Linked DNA regions of Homo sapiens: regions 1, 2 and 4 are each linked to region 3. Evidence: promoter capture Hi-C in human tissues and cell types (Jung and others, 2019). All regions are on one chromosome and are shown on one strand. Each heading gives the region's core, a stretch centred on a gene start or on the middle of the fragment in contact. The rest is flanking DNA. Distances are from core to core; before and after follow the strand shown. Region 1 overlaps LINC01478 (long intergenic non-protein coding RNA 1478). Region 2 overlaps LINC01601 (long intergenic non-protein coding RNA 1601). Region 3 holds the start of SETBP1 (SET binding protein 1). Region 4 overlaps SETBP1 (SET binding protein 1).

Evidence for each region. Contacts are between HindIII fragments. The study calls those that stand out against the background at their distance.
Region 1: a contact is called between a fragment that was not itself captured here and the fragment with the promoter of SETBP1 in region 3, in 1 of the 25 tissues and cell types used here (dorsolateral prefrontal cortex).
Region 2: a contact is called between a fragment that was not itself captured here and the fragment with the promoter of SETBP1 in region 3, in 1 of the 25 tissues and cell types used here (H1 embryonic stem cells).
Region 4: a fragment that was not itself captured here is called in contact with the fragment with the promoter of SETBP1 in region 3 in 2 of the 25 tissues and cell types used here (aorta and heart right ventricle).

What each region holds. Positions count from the first base shown.
Region 1 is chr18:44,520,732-44,524,037 of GRCh38, reverse strand. The region is part of intron 1 of LINC01478 (long intergenic non-protein coding RNA 1478); the gene reads left to right. It also overlaps the pseudogene MLECP1. Among named protein-coding and RNA genes, the nearest start is that of LINC01478, 9.3 kb to the left of the region's middle. The HindIII fragment of the contact is 3,422 bases long and covers 69-3,306 here.
Region 2 is chr18:44,548,964-44,552,342 of GRCh38, reverse strand. The region is part of intron 3 of LINC01601 (long intergenic non-protein coding RNA 1601); the gene reads right to left. Among named protein-coding and RNA genes, the nearest start is that of LINC01601, 19 kb to the right of the region's middle. The HindIII fragment of the contact is 3,318 bases long and covers 1-3,245 here.
Region 3 is chr18:44,679,008-44,682,485 of GRCh38, reverse strand. It overlaps SETBP1 (SET binding protein 1), which reads right to left and starts at 1,598. Exons shown (of 6, transcript NM_015559.3): 1 at 1,465-1,598. It overlaps SETBP1-DT (SETBP1 divergent transcript), which reads left to right and starts at 2,614. Exons shown (of 2, transcript NR_187430.2): 1 at 2,614-2,870. RefSeq lists silencers at 1,724-1,773, 1,914-2,163, 2,834-3,473. The HindIII fragment of the contact is 9,552 bases long and covers 334-3,478 here.
Region 4 is chr18:44,851,812-44,855,319 of GRCh38, reverse strand. The region is part of intron 2 of SETBP1 (SET binding protein 1); the gene reads right to left. Among named protein-coding and RNA genes, the nearest start is that of MIR4319, 120 kb to the left of the region's middle. The HindIII fragment of the contact is 5,802 bases long and covers 1-3,508 here.

The DNA.
Region 1 (3,306 bases), core at 530-3,029, 160 kb after region 3:
GAGACTGTACCCCAAAAGATTATACCCTGAAAGAAAGGAGATCATTTTGGCTACTATTCTCTGACAAACATGAAACTCATTCCATCTTTACAGCTTTGCTTAAGCTGGAAAACTGTTCTCCTCGCTGGAAATGTCCTCATACATGCTATCATGCTCTCAATTTATTATACTCTTTCTCATCCTTCAAAACTGCATTTTCGTCTTTCTTTTCCTCTATGGAACTTTATCTTTTGATTCCAGATCATGTCGCTATTGCATTTTTGGGACACCTTTGAACACGCATTATTATTTTTTTTTTTTGGTAATTTTTTTTTATACTTTAAGTTCTAGGGTACATGTGCACAATGTGCAGGTTTGTTACATATGTATATATGCACCATGTTGGTGTGCTGCACCCATTAACTCGTCATTTACATTAGGTATATCTCCTAATGCTATCCTTCCCCCCTGCCCCCACCCCATGACAGGCCCCGGTGTGTGATGTTCCCGTTCCTGTGTCCAAGTGTTCTCATTGTTCAATTCCCACCTATAAGTGAGAACATGTGATGTCTGGTTTTTTGTCCTTGCAATAGTTTGCTGAGAATGATGGTTTCCAGCTTCATCCATGTCCCCACAAAGGACATGAACTCATCCTTTTTTATGGCTGCATAGTATTCCACGGTGTATATGTGCCACATCTTCTTAATGTAGTCTATCATTGATGGACATTTGGGTTGGTTCCAAGCCTTTGCTATTGTGAATAGTGCCACAATAAACATACAGAAAACGCATTATTTAATCTTCTCATTGAACACTTAATCACATTCTGTCATTCATATAATAATATTCATATAACAACTTCCTTGAATTTCCTTTGTTTGATTTTTGTTGTTGTTTTGTTAATCATCATGAAAATCCCTAATCAACAATGCTTGGTTTCTTTCCCATACCATCCACCCCATTCAGGAAGATTCTTTGCTCTCACAACAAGCAGAGTCAAAAGAGGGAGGAAATGGAGACACCGAAGTCCATGAGGATAGAAAAAATGAGGCTATTCTTGTCCAAAGCATAGAGGTTGAGCATGGAGGGAGAGTCAACTAAAGTGGATTCTTATTGGTCTGCCCTTTGAGATCAGACCCTTCAGCACAATCTGTCCTCTTTCTTTTTTCTCCAATCCTGGAGAATTATCATTTATCATCCCTGCCATGATGTAGATTGTACAGAGTTTGGGACTACTATAGTGCCCCTTTCATAAACCTGAAGTAGAGTTTCTCAGTGACAGAGAACACCTACCCCTTTCTTTTTCTGATGCTCATAGGGATGATATTGTTATGGGCTGTGCTGTACCCGCGTACCATTAAAGATATTGTCTTTCACCATGCTATGGCAATTTAGTTACACATTAAACAGTTGACATTGTGCAAAGGAGACCTCAGAAACTTTCAAAAACAGTGAGAAGTCCTCTTGATGGGTACTTCATAGCAAGGACCCCTTGTGATAACTCTCCATCAGGCCTTCTCTGATCTGGAGCACAGGATTGAAGCCTGGGATTGCAGATCAAGCCATAGTCTGTGGCTTGGCTCACCTGACCTTCCAATGCATTCTTGAGGAAATGAGTCCCTGTACATGTCTAAATCTACTTTACTACCTGCTTGACACCCCAAGTGATGCTCTTTGGCAGCTTGGCCCCTAGCACAATACCAGGGTGCCACCACCCAGGAGCTATCATCACTGCCCTTTCCTGCCAGGTCACCCTGGACTCAGGAAAACAACATCACAGGTCTGTCCCAGCTACAGTGGAAATGAAGCTTTCATGTCTCCTTCCAAATGCTGCTTATATTTTTATTTACATATTTTATTTGTGCTATCTTTTTCTCTTCTTACTATATCCTGACTGTATTATGAATTGCCATATATACAGAGATTGTGTCCCATCATTTTCTTACATTTTATTGAACATTGAACACTGGTTTTAGCACACTTTAGATGTCTGGTAAATATTTTTTGTTGAGTTCATACATACAAATTATAACAGGAGACAGAATAAATCTAATCACAGATAAAGACTCTTGTTCAATCTCTTTTAATAGGGATGTACTTTTGAGATAACATATTTCATGAAATGTCTATATCTTTTCAACACCATCTAGTCACATAGAATAGACCAAACATGTTACAACCCAAAGGTGAGGTCATTCATGAAGCATTCTTAGAATTGTGATCTACTTTCTAAGAGAAGGCATATGCCCCATTTTGTTGAGACAAATGCTTCTGGTCTCCTGGCTCAGATTACAGAAATATTTTTTCTAAAGAGAGTCAGGACTTATTTGGATCTGTCCTTGTAGGAGGGAGGCCTGAAGAGACATAAACAACCCAAGTGACAAGATTTTTATTTCCTATGTATGACTAGTTATGGTGTACTTTATAATATGGGTAGCATATCCGCTTCAAATTGAGAAAGACAAAGTCCAAAAAGGTTAAATGACTTGCTTAAAGTCACACAGCAACACATGGCCAGGCTTTGCACATTCTCCAGGTTTGATCAATCCTGTGCATGGATGCCAGCTGTTAGACAAAAGGAACCTATGCTCCCCAGAGGGCTTGGGTGATGAACTTCCCTCTTGTCTGGGTCCTACTTGAGGTTGCACGCATTGTTCCATCTTGCCTTGGAAGGTGATTGTTAGTGAAGCCCCTTCCAAACTATTCTTGTAATAATTTCCATCCTGAATCCCAGAAAAATTGAGAACACCGGGTGGGGTTCTGTCCCTCCTGTAAATCTCCTGGCTTGTTGCTATTTATTTAATGATTAATCCTTCAGCACTGCCTTGTTAAATAGAAGGGTAATATTTTCCTTCTGACTGGGCTGGAGGGGCTCCCAGTTCCAGTCAGGTACCTTTGGGCCATGCAGCTGAAGATATATAATGTGCCTTTTGTTTTGGCCCCTGGAAACTGAGCTTGTGTGGTGGTGAAGGATGTTCCTAGTAGTGGATTTTCTTCTGTTTCTCAAGTTTATGGTTAAAAGGAGAACTTATTATAAAGGTTAAGCTTTTATAACTGAGAGAACCAAGAAAGAATTAGAGTATCTACAGCCCCATATGCATGTGTTGTTCCCTTAAATACCTGAGATCACTAAAAACATCAAATCTCCCTAATTAGTACTTTTGTAGCTCTGAAATTTGCAAAAAAAATGTTTAATGTGATAATTATGGGTGAATTGTCAATCTCTATAGTGTGTTTGCATTTGCTCAAAATAATTCAAATGTAACAATATTTTCTAATTTACAGTTAATTGACTGCTAATAGGAAGAGGGGGAAGAATAAAAAAAA
Region 2 (3,379 bases), core at 337-2,836, 130 kb after region 3:
TAACTGTGAGAGCCACCACACCATAGCCACCACCTATTATCCCGTTCTAACTATTGCCACATCTCTTCTCAGGGTAAACTGAGAAACATCTACTTCTTTGGAAGCATTATGACTATGACTCTCCTATCTTGTAAATGTGGTTGTGTTTAAACTTTCCCCTTTGTTGTCTACTTCTTCACCAGTTTAACTTCTACCCATAGCCCAAAATGAGACCCAAGTGTCAACCCTATTTAGAAGCCTTGCAATTTCTCTGAGATATAATATATACATAATAAGAAGGAGTCACAAGCACTTAGATATTTGAAGCCTACATAAACAAGGATTCTGTAATGAGGAAGTCCAGTATAGTCATGGCATCAGAAGTTCATAAAACACAAACTTGAGAGCTACTGGTTTAAGCTTTTCATTTACAAGTGATACCATTGAGGCTGGGAGTGAGAAGTAATGTAGGGCATAGTGGTGGGGAGAGAAGGTGAAGTGTAAGGTTTATTTCCCAAGGTCAAGCAATTAGGCAATAGGAGAGGCAGGACTAGAAAGAATACAGATCTCTTGGCTCCTAAACCAATGTTCTTTATATTTGCCTAGGCTGGAATAAAGAATTTAATTGTGTGGCTGGGCACGGTGGCTCATGCCTGTAATCCCAGCACTTTGAGAGGCCGAGGCGGGTGTGGATCACAAGGTCAAGAGATCGAGACCATCCTGGCCAACATGGTGAAACCCCGTCACTACTAAAAATACTAAAATTAGCTGGGCATGGTGGCATGTGCCTGTAGCCCCAGCTCAGGAGGCTGAGGCAGGAGAGTTGCTTGAACCTGGGAGGCAGTGGTTGCAGTGAGCCAAAATCATGCTACTGCACTATGGCCTGGTGACAGAATGAGACTCTGTCTCAAAAAAAAAAAAAAAATGTAATTGTGTGAAGGTGATTAAAACTAATATTAGTGTTTTCAAGTAAAGAAATACATATTTTTTCTTTAAAAAACAGTTGGTCTCCAGAGCATTATTGGATTAACCAATTGAAATTAATCAACTATTCAATTTCATTAAACAACCAGAAATTCAGCCAAGCAATTGACACTTGCCACTGAGTCAATGAATTGTTTGGGTACACAAGCTAACAGCTCAGTGGTGTAGGTGTTGTATAGACAGACACAGTCTGGCTGTTTCTGAAGTGGTAATCCAGTAAACAAACCCAAGAGAACTATGTACACACAGGCTGGTTCCCCCACATTGCCTACCAACTGAAGCAGATTAAATTAATAACTTTGCTCTGTTTATGGACATGCTAGTTATAAGCAACGTAGGCGTCTCGACTGACAATCAGCCAGGCAGAGAAACCAATTAACTAGTGGATCTAAAACACAAGAAAGAGGAGCCATTTTCTAAATGACCTGGATATATCCTTGGTATAAATTACTAAATTAATTAATGAATAAATCTCAAGTCTTTGTTGGTTAGCAACTTTACTCATTCATCAAATTTTATGAAACATCTCCTCTTTCTGTATGAGACATTGAAAAACAATAGCGATTAAAATATATTTCTTACAACATTAAAGAGAGACAATGTAGTTGCAAGGAAATAATTTCAAGTTCATTTTGTCAAGCATTCCTTGGATCCAAAATCCTGGAAGGTGAAAGAGAAAGGAAGGGGAGGAGAACCATCTTTTGTGAAGCCTGATTACACCTGCCTGGTGCTTTCTCATAAAGAAGCTTTGGCCCTGGGTAAAAGAGAGTTGAAAGCAAGTGACTCAGCATGGATACCATATCCATCTTCAGATAATTATGTTCTCTTCCCCTGTCAGCAACTAAATTAGATGATAATTCCTTATACTTGCCCTAGTACTTTTCACAGTATTTTACATATACTATCTCATATAATCTTTATCTTCATCCTAGGGAGACAGGACAAGCACCACTATTTTCATTTTAAAGATGAGGAAACCAAGGCCTAGAAAATTTAACTGATTTCCCAAAGCCACTCTGCTTTCTTTCAAAGCCATGGTAATCCGTAACTTGAAACTCTTACCAAATGGAGGCAATTTCTTGATTGAACAATATTCATAGAATCACTGAACCTATGTAGGGTAGTGATGATGAAATATGCCTCAATTTTCTTGTTGATATATAATAGACAAAGCATCAATATTTTTGCTTCATGTTTCTCTCCTCCTTCTTCCTCTACCTACCTATATTTTACTATATTAAAGTGTACATCTGGTCTGTGGTAAGCCATGAAATCTTACTTGGCTTCTCAAATCCACACTGTTTAGTGTCTTCCCTGAATTTCTTTAGCAATGCGAAGAGAAAAAGATTTTTTTTAAAACAGTTAATGGGTCGATTCTTGGATGTGTTAATTAAGATACTATGTGAGGGCTTGAGGCAAAGACAGAAGAGCAATGCCTGTTTACTGCTCCACCAGATCTCATGGTCTGGTGGGGCAGCAAGAGTCAGGGCAGCAGCCCACCACTGCGTGTATCAGGGGTGTGCTCTGTTGGAGTTCCCAATGCTATGGGGGCTCTAAAGAGGAAAGATCTGTTCTGCATAGAGCATGAAGAATGTAAAGACACGCAACAATTGGTTAAATACATATTTGAGCCATTCTCTGATATTTCATTTGCCTTATCTTTTTAATCTCAACTAGAGTGCTTCAAGTTGGAAACAATTTTCAACTGGAGAAATGTGCCCAGTCTGTTGGTGAAGAGAAAGCACAGGAGAGGTCAGATTATTTAATATAGAATAAAGTAAGCATCAGCTACCTACCCTCTAAAAGATGAACCTACTTGAGAGAGGAGAGAACATCAAAGGCTGTAATATGCTGAGCTTTCTAAGAAAACTGCTTTGAAGGGAACAGGTTTTGCTTGGATGGGTAAGTCCCAACATATTTATAAAAATCATTCACATTGTCATTTTTCATATGACCTCAATTCTGTGCCACATACTCATACTAGTTGAGGGTAGAAGTGGGTGAGAAGGGAAGTGAGTGGGGCAGAACTACAAGAAATAAAATGCACAGTCCCTGAACTTCTATTTTAATTGAGGAGACATAATTAACGGTGAAAGGTAGGGTATGACTTGGGGCTATAAAGGAGTCATCAATAGCTTGAGGGATTCTATTGGGGGGAATCAACTTGCATATTTGGGTAAATCTTCATGGAGAAGGTGGAATTAATTGAATCTTGAAGAACAGGCTGAATTTTGACTGTTAAGAAGTCAGGGAAAGATATCACAGAAAGTCTGCACTTGGCCAGTTGTGCTTATAAACAAGAATCCTGGGCAGATTCCAGTACAGCACTGAGATGGGATCCCCGTGCCCCGCCCCACCTCTGAAACCCCATGTGACACCCTGGTGCTTGTTAGCACCAACTAAGCCAAGCAGTCTA
Region 3 (3,478 bases), core at 349-2,848:
AAAGGGAGGGAGTGACCTGGGATGGTAAACTAGCTACATCTTAAAGTGCTACAAACTTTCTCCTCCCTCACACGCCCCTGTCTGGTTGGCTCCGCCTTCCCATCCCAGCTGGGGTGTGCAAAGGAAACTCTCCCCGGAATGCCCAGGTCTGGTCCAGTGTTGAAGATGTGGCCTGCACACAACACCGCCCTTCCTCTCCAAATACCTCTTCTCTACCCCATCCCCTTTCTCCCACGACACACACATGCTTTGCACGTGAAGATGAGTTTGGATGGGGCACAGGAGATATACCTATTTACTAAAGGAGGGTAAGAGATGGTGCCAAATCGGCAGATAGTTTTGGTGACAGTACAGAGACTTCAAGAAATTAGTTTTTAGTATAAATCTACAGAAAAAGAAGAAAAACAGGATGAAGAGTGAAGGAATGAAAAGAAAAAGAAGGAAAAAGATGTAAGAGAAAAACAATCAACGCCAGTGGACTCCAACTAAACTTTAAGGGGAAAGGTGTGGATAGTTGGCAGGAGGTGGGGGGAGTGTAGGGGCTGGAAGGGAAAGGTATCTGCTGTAGAATTCCAGAATAAACTGCCCTTTTGGAGGAGAGTTTCTGCAGGGATAAAGAGACACACAAATTGCCCTTTTAGCGTTAGATGTCAACCGTGAGATTATCAGGACAGTTTATTTGAAACGGAAACGAATCGGAAATCCTTCCCACAACAGTCCTTTTAGACAGATACACACCCTGAGAATCCAACACAGACACACATAAAGAATAAATGCAGCATTAGGGGGCAATAAGAACTCCCCTTCCACACTCTCAATACCTCTAGCCTCATCTATTTCCAATTGCACAACTTTCAATCTCCAATGAAAATATTTCCAGTTGGATCCGATTTCAGACTTGTAGTAAGCGGTCTGGATGGGGGGGCGGGGGGAATAGGTGCTGTACTGTGCAGGGGAGGGGGGCTGGAAGACAGTATTTCGGCAGTTAACTTATTTTTTTAGAACCAGCATGCTCTACCGATCAGAAATTGCTATTACCCAACAATGCTTCCATCACAAACAGACACTGAAAACAGCATCCCCGTTATCACCATCTTGCCAAAGATCTGCCCGGTCCAGTTTACCTGACTTTGTCCCTGCGGAACTTCTCAGACAGTATTTCGGTCAAAGAGATAATGGTTTGGAAGACAAAAACAATAAATCGATACCGAAGGGTTCCCTTTCCGGAGTGATTTCCCACTGGAAACCACCGAACGGGGAAGCCTGCCGTTCATTCCCAAGCCCACGGCTCCTCTAGAAACGCACACAATGCGTGCTTTCAAAAAGGCATTCGTCTGCTTTTAAGGGAATTCCTATCTTTTCAGAGTCCCAAAACCAGAGAGCACAAGAAAGAGACTCAAATCCATTGATTAAGATTTTTAAGAAAAAGACTAACACACAGGCACAACACAAGCACACACCAACCTTCGCCGGCTGGACCACTTCTTGCCTGTTCTTCTTTCTATTAACGACACGTTAGATTCTGATACATTCCCCCCCCAAAAAAATCCAACTAGGTTACAATGTAGCTCTCTAGCTCCACTTAACCTGCAAGTTACAAAGAGAGAAAAAAAAAATCCTGCCTTCCCACCCCTTTCCTTACCCCCTCCCCCTCCCGAGTCCACTCCACCAACGCCAAACCCGCCAGCCCCGCCAGCCGGCTGCAGGACCGAGGGAGGGTGCAAAAGGCGGGGGGCGGAGGGGGGGTAGATCAGATTAGGCGAAACTCAATAAGCTCCCAGCCCTCCAGCCCAAAGCTTCCACCATCGCCGCCACCAACGAGCCACTCCAATTGAGCCAGCATCGCCGCCCACCCGCCGGCCCGCCGGAATCGCGCCCATCTCCTGCAACCTCGCCCGGACCGGCATCCCGCCCCCTCGGCCCGGTCTCCCCCTTCCCGCCGGGTGCAAAGTCAAAGACCCAGCAAGGCGACGTGAACTTTTGCATGCAGGGCACACACGTCGCCCCCGGTTCCGGGAGTGCGGGGGCCCGCGGCGCGGAGGGAGGCTGGGCGCCCGGGCTCCCGGGCCAAGGTCGCCGCGCGTGCTCACCCATGTCCCGGCGGCTCCGGCTCCGCTGGCCCCGGCGCTCGCTCAGATCCCGGCTCCCGTCGCTCGCCCGAGCCCCCAAAGGTGCTGCTGCGGCAACTCCATGGCGATGAGCATCTGTCAAACGGCGAGCCGCGAGCTGGCCGCCCTAGCTCGGGGGGCGCCGGGGCCCCCGGGCGCGCGGAGGCGGCGGCGAGCGGCGGGCGCCCCGGCCGGCCCCGCGCTTCCCGCCCGACTCTGCCGCCTCCGCCGCGCCACCGATTTATGGAGAGAGATATCAAGGGGGAAAATGGCGTCTCCGGAGCCCGAGGAGTCCTGGAGTAATCACATTCACACACACACGCCCGCACGCACACACACTCGCACACACTGGCACACAGGCGCGCGGCGAGCCCTGCTAATTTTAGCAGGAGCCAAAAAAAATTTTATATATATATATATATATATATATATATATATATCCCCGTCTCTCCGATCAATGCTTTTTCTTTTTTTGCTTTTTTTTTTTTTTTTTTTTTTTTTTTTGCTTTTCTTCAAAGGATGGGTTGGAGCGTTAAAAAATGTTGGTGGGTTTGGGCTCGCAGGAGGCGGCGCGCGGAGGGCGAGGGCGCTTTTGCTGAGCTGTGCAGTTCGGTCCGCTGAGCCCGGCGGCCCTGCCCGCCCGCTCGTCCGCCCGCGGTCGCTAGTGTTGCCGCCGCCGCCGCCGCCGCCGCCGCTGCTGCTCCATGGCCGCGCCCGCCCCGCGCCCCCGCCGCGTCCCGTCGCCGCCCGCCCGCGTCCCCGGTGAGCGCTGGAGTGGGGTCGGGCCCGTGTGCCTGCCTCCCGCGCCCTCTCCGAATCCCGGACTCCTAGTGAAAGGAAGGGGGAGGGCGCGGGCGCGGAAGGGAGGTGGATCGGAGCGGCAGCGCGGCCCAGCCGAACGGGTACCGACCGTCACCCCGCGATCTTCCTCGCAGGGGGCGCCGGCGCCCAAGCTGCTCGCCCGGAGGGCCCAGAGCCGCTTCCCAGACCAGAGCCGGGGGAGGCGCAGCCAGTAGCGAGCCCTGAGCGACCTCTCTCCCCACTCGCCCCCCTGCCCCAGTGAATTTCTGTCAGTTGAAGGGAGCGGGGCTCTTGCCCGGGGAAAAGGAAAACAGTTCGTGGCCTGGGATCTGGGACCCCTTGCCGCCCCCAGCGCCCCTCCCGCTCCCCGGCGCCCTTGCGGCCCAGTGGCTCCTGCGCGCCGGAGTCCGCCGCGAAGACTGAGCGGCCGCGGGGATCGCCGCGGGCTCCGCGCGTATTCCTGGGCTCAACACTGCCACTATCTGACACAACAGGAGCAGTGTCGGGGGGGTACTGCGCGCCCAGACGTGAGCTGTGATAGGCTCTCGAAACTGGGCGCATTTTTTTTT
Region 4 (3,508 bases), core at 369-2,868, 170 kb before region 3:
AAACAAAAACAAAAACAAAAAACAAACAAATAAAAACCCCAAAACGAACCAAAAAAAAACCCAAAGTCCTTATTCTCAATGAGACAAACAATGAAGTAAAATAATAACAATAAACAATAACGATCATAACACTATAACCTGTTAATTATAATAAAAGAAGAGAGAAATAAAGCAGAAAGAAAAAGCAGAGTGGGGGATATGCTGCTTTAAATAAGCTGATCAGGGAAGGCCTCTCTAAGGAGGGAATGTTAGAGTGAAACCCAAATGAATGAAAGAAGGGAGTGAGCCATCTGGTATTTGGGAGAAGAGCAATCCAAAAGAGGAAATAGAATGTGCAAAGTTACTGACATGAATAGTACTCAAAGTGTTGGTGGAACAGCAAAGAGATTGGCACCCTAGAGCAGAGAAAAAGAGCAAGGGCAGTGGTAGGAGGTGACAGCAGAGTGAGGCCACATCACGTAAGAGCCATTAGGTCAGAGCTAAGAGGTATAGGTCATGGTGCATGAATGACTCTGAGAGATATGGGGGGTAATATGGAGGAGAAAAACCAATGTGGGGCACAATTTGAGATACACTGAAAAAAAGTGCCCACTGGCTGTTTTCTTAACAGCCCCCAGTATTTGCTGACTGATTAGCTATGGCATGAGAGGTTAAGACAGGAGTGAAGGACGATGCCAAGGGTTTTTGCCTAAGAAGTTGAAGAATGATTTTTGTTGACGTTGGGAAGATTGGAGTGGGTAGGTGGTAGGGTAGGCATGGTCAATAGCCCATGAACATCTTGGTTTGGCTCAGTGCTGGGAGCCTCAATGCAGAACACTAACACACAGTGGGTTTGTGGGCTGATGCATAGCTTGTCTTGGCTGCAGCACTACATACATTGAGGATGTCTTAGGGAAGGAGAATCAAAAGGTGTTTGGGATTGACCCACCTTGTAGAACACGTTGAGAAATCTGCATTATTAGGAATTCAAGATGTACCTGAGTAAATCCCAGATAAACGCAGTGAGTCTGCTACACCTGGACCTATTCCAGTGGGTCTACATGTCTGCGAGTTTCTTTGGAACTGAAGATTCATTTCCCCCTCTCATCTGCTTGCTACATTCATTCTGAATTTCAACTTTCTCTTAGGGAGCCCCTGCAAGTGCCAGGCCTTGTGATGCATTCTGGGGATACGCCAATGAACAAATAATATATAAGCCCTGCTCTCAGGGAACCCAAGAGTCTATTAGGGGAGACAGCATTTATTTTGAATATGAAAACCAAATATAATTTAGAGCTGTGATAAGTTCAAGAAAAAGTAATGAGAAAAAAGGTATGGGTAGGACAAAAGAATTAATGAAGACCGGTCTGATGTAGAATTTGAGAGTGGTCAAGGAAGGCTTTCCTGAGGAAGTGACAATAAAGCCATCCCCCAAAGGATGAGTAGAAGTTGCTAACTGAAGAGCTGTGGGAGAGGCACTTCAGGTAGATGGAACATCATGGTGAAGGCTTCTGGCAGGAAAAAGTAATTTGCACGTTGGAAGAGCCCCTGCAGTTTATAATGTAGAAAGAGGACTAGACTGAGGTTAAGACTCCTGGATTCTAATCCAAATCCTGTCATGACCTAGCACTGTGACCTTATTCCAGTTACTTATCATTTCACATATTCAGCTCAATTTATTCACTTGTGCAGTTAGAATGCAGATGGGGCAGTGTGTTCTGCAAAGTAACACATGCTTAGTAGCCAATCATACTCAAGTTCAGATATGAGCTCTTCTTAGAAGCTGAATCTCAAGTTTCTGTTTATCATCCATAAAAGGTGGATAACATTAGCTACCTCATAGGGATGTTTGGATGGGGATGTTTCGATGTCTGTAATGAGACAAAGGAGTCAGTGCCTCATAAATATGAGTTAGTCTTCCCTCCATCCTGTGATATCTTTAAGGGGTATGGCGAGGCTCAACTTAGACCACTAAAATGAGATCATCAGGAGAAGATACTGTACCACATTAACAGATGAAATTGTTGGTGTTAAACTTTGTACCCTTCCTCTCCCTTACACCTGGCCCTCTAAATCTCTTCACATGGGAGAGCTGTGGGCAATGCGGAGGGGCTTTGGCTATTACCATGGGCAAGTTGTAAGTGGCCACCTCAGCATAAGGTTGGCAACTTGCCTTCCTGGGCTTAGGGCAAAGGTGGGCAGGAGGTGACTGGAAATGTTGGCTCTTCTATGAAGCTTTTATTAGAAACAGGGAATTCCCCAGTGCTCTTTCAAACTCTTTTGGCCAAACATTAAATGCCCCAAGGTCAAATTTGTTAGTGCATCCACCAGCCCAGAGGACTCTTGGCTTTGGGGTTGAATTCCACTTATCTCCCTTCCCTCCCTTAAGCCTTGCAATTTAGCCAAGGCAGCTGCTCATACCTCATCAGCCCTTGAGTGGTTCAGTCTGTACACAAAAATAGACACACATGGCAATCACTGCTTTCATGGGGCCACCATTAGAAATTAGATACACTCAGGACACTCTCCAGTGAGGGGAAGGAGAAGCTGGTAGATGCTTACATGGCAGAATGACAGAGCTTGGGCTGGTCCCCAAAGAACCAGAATGGGTATCAAAGGCACCCAGGAAAAGCCATTTTACTTGCTTGAAATTCAGTTTCCTTATTTCTGAAAATAAGGTCCTCCAAATCCTGGCTAGCTCACAGGATTTGGGGGAAAATAAAATGGGATGGAGGCCATGAATGTGCTTTATACCTATTATACCAATAAATGATATTAGTGAGAATATTATTATCCCTACCAGCCCTGATAGATCACATGGCCATATATGGGGCATAGAGGAGGGGAAGAGCCCCCGGACCCTCTGGGGATTCATTTAAGCAGAGCAGCTGTTGTTTGACCCATGGCTGCACACCCAGCTTCATGGGAATACGGACGGACCAAGCTGCATGTTTGCAGCAATGGTGCAGAACGTGGGGGCACAACTGCCAGAGTATAGCATGTAGGTGGGCCATGAGGAGATCTCAAAAGAGGCTGAGGGCACTGAGGTTACTGATTTCAGGGCTCATGCAAGTTGCCTTAGTTTCCTCTGTGTCTCTGATCACTGCCTACCACTCAGAGGAGCCCCTGAAGGTGGTGGGCTGAGGGCTGGGCGGGGCTGATAGCTGCAGCCTACCAGCCTGTGCCTGTGCATCTCATTATTGAGCGGGGCTGAATCAAAGCAGCTCTGTGCAGCTGCTGTCCCATTTAATCCATTTGTAATCAAAAGTGATTAGGATGGATGCCTCGGTGCTGAGGTTATTGTGTGTGTGATCAAAGCTGAGGCTCTTATTCGCTTCCTAGAACCGCCTGCACCTGGGAGGGCGTGGAAGGCCGTGAGCCTGGGGCATGGGGCAGGCAGCTGTTGGCACTCAGAAAGAGGGTGGGCTCCAGGAGCAGAGCCCAGGGATGGCAAGTGTAGCCTCGCCGGTGTGAGGCTTAGCAACCTTGAGGAGGTCCCCAGAGAGGCCCATGGCCCAGGTTTCACCTC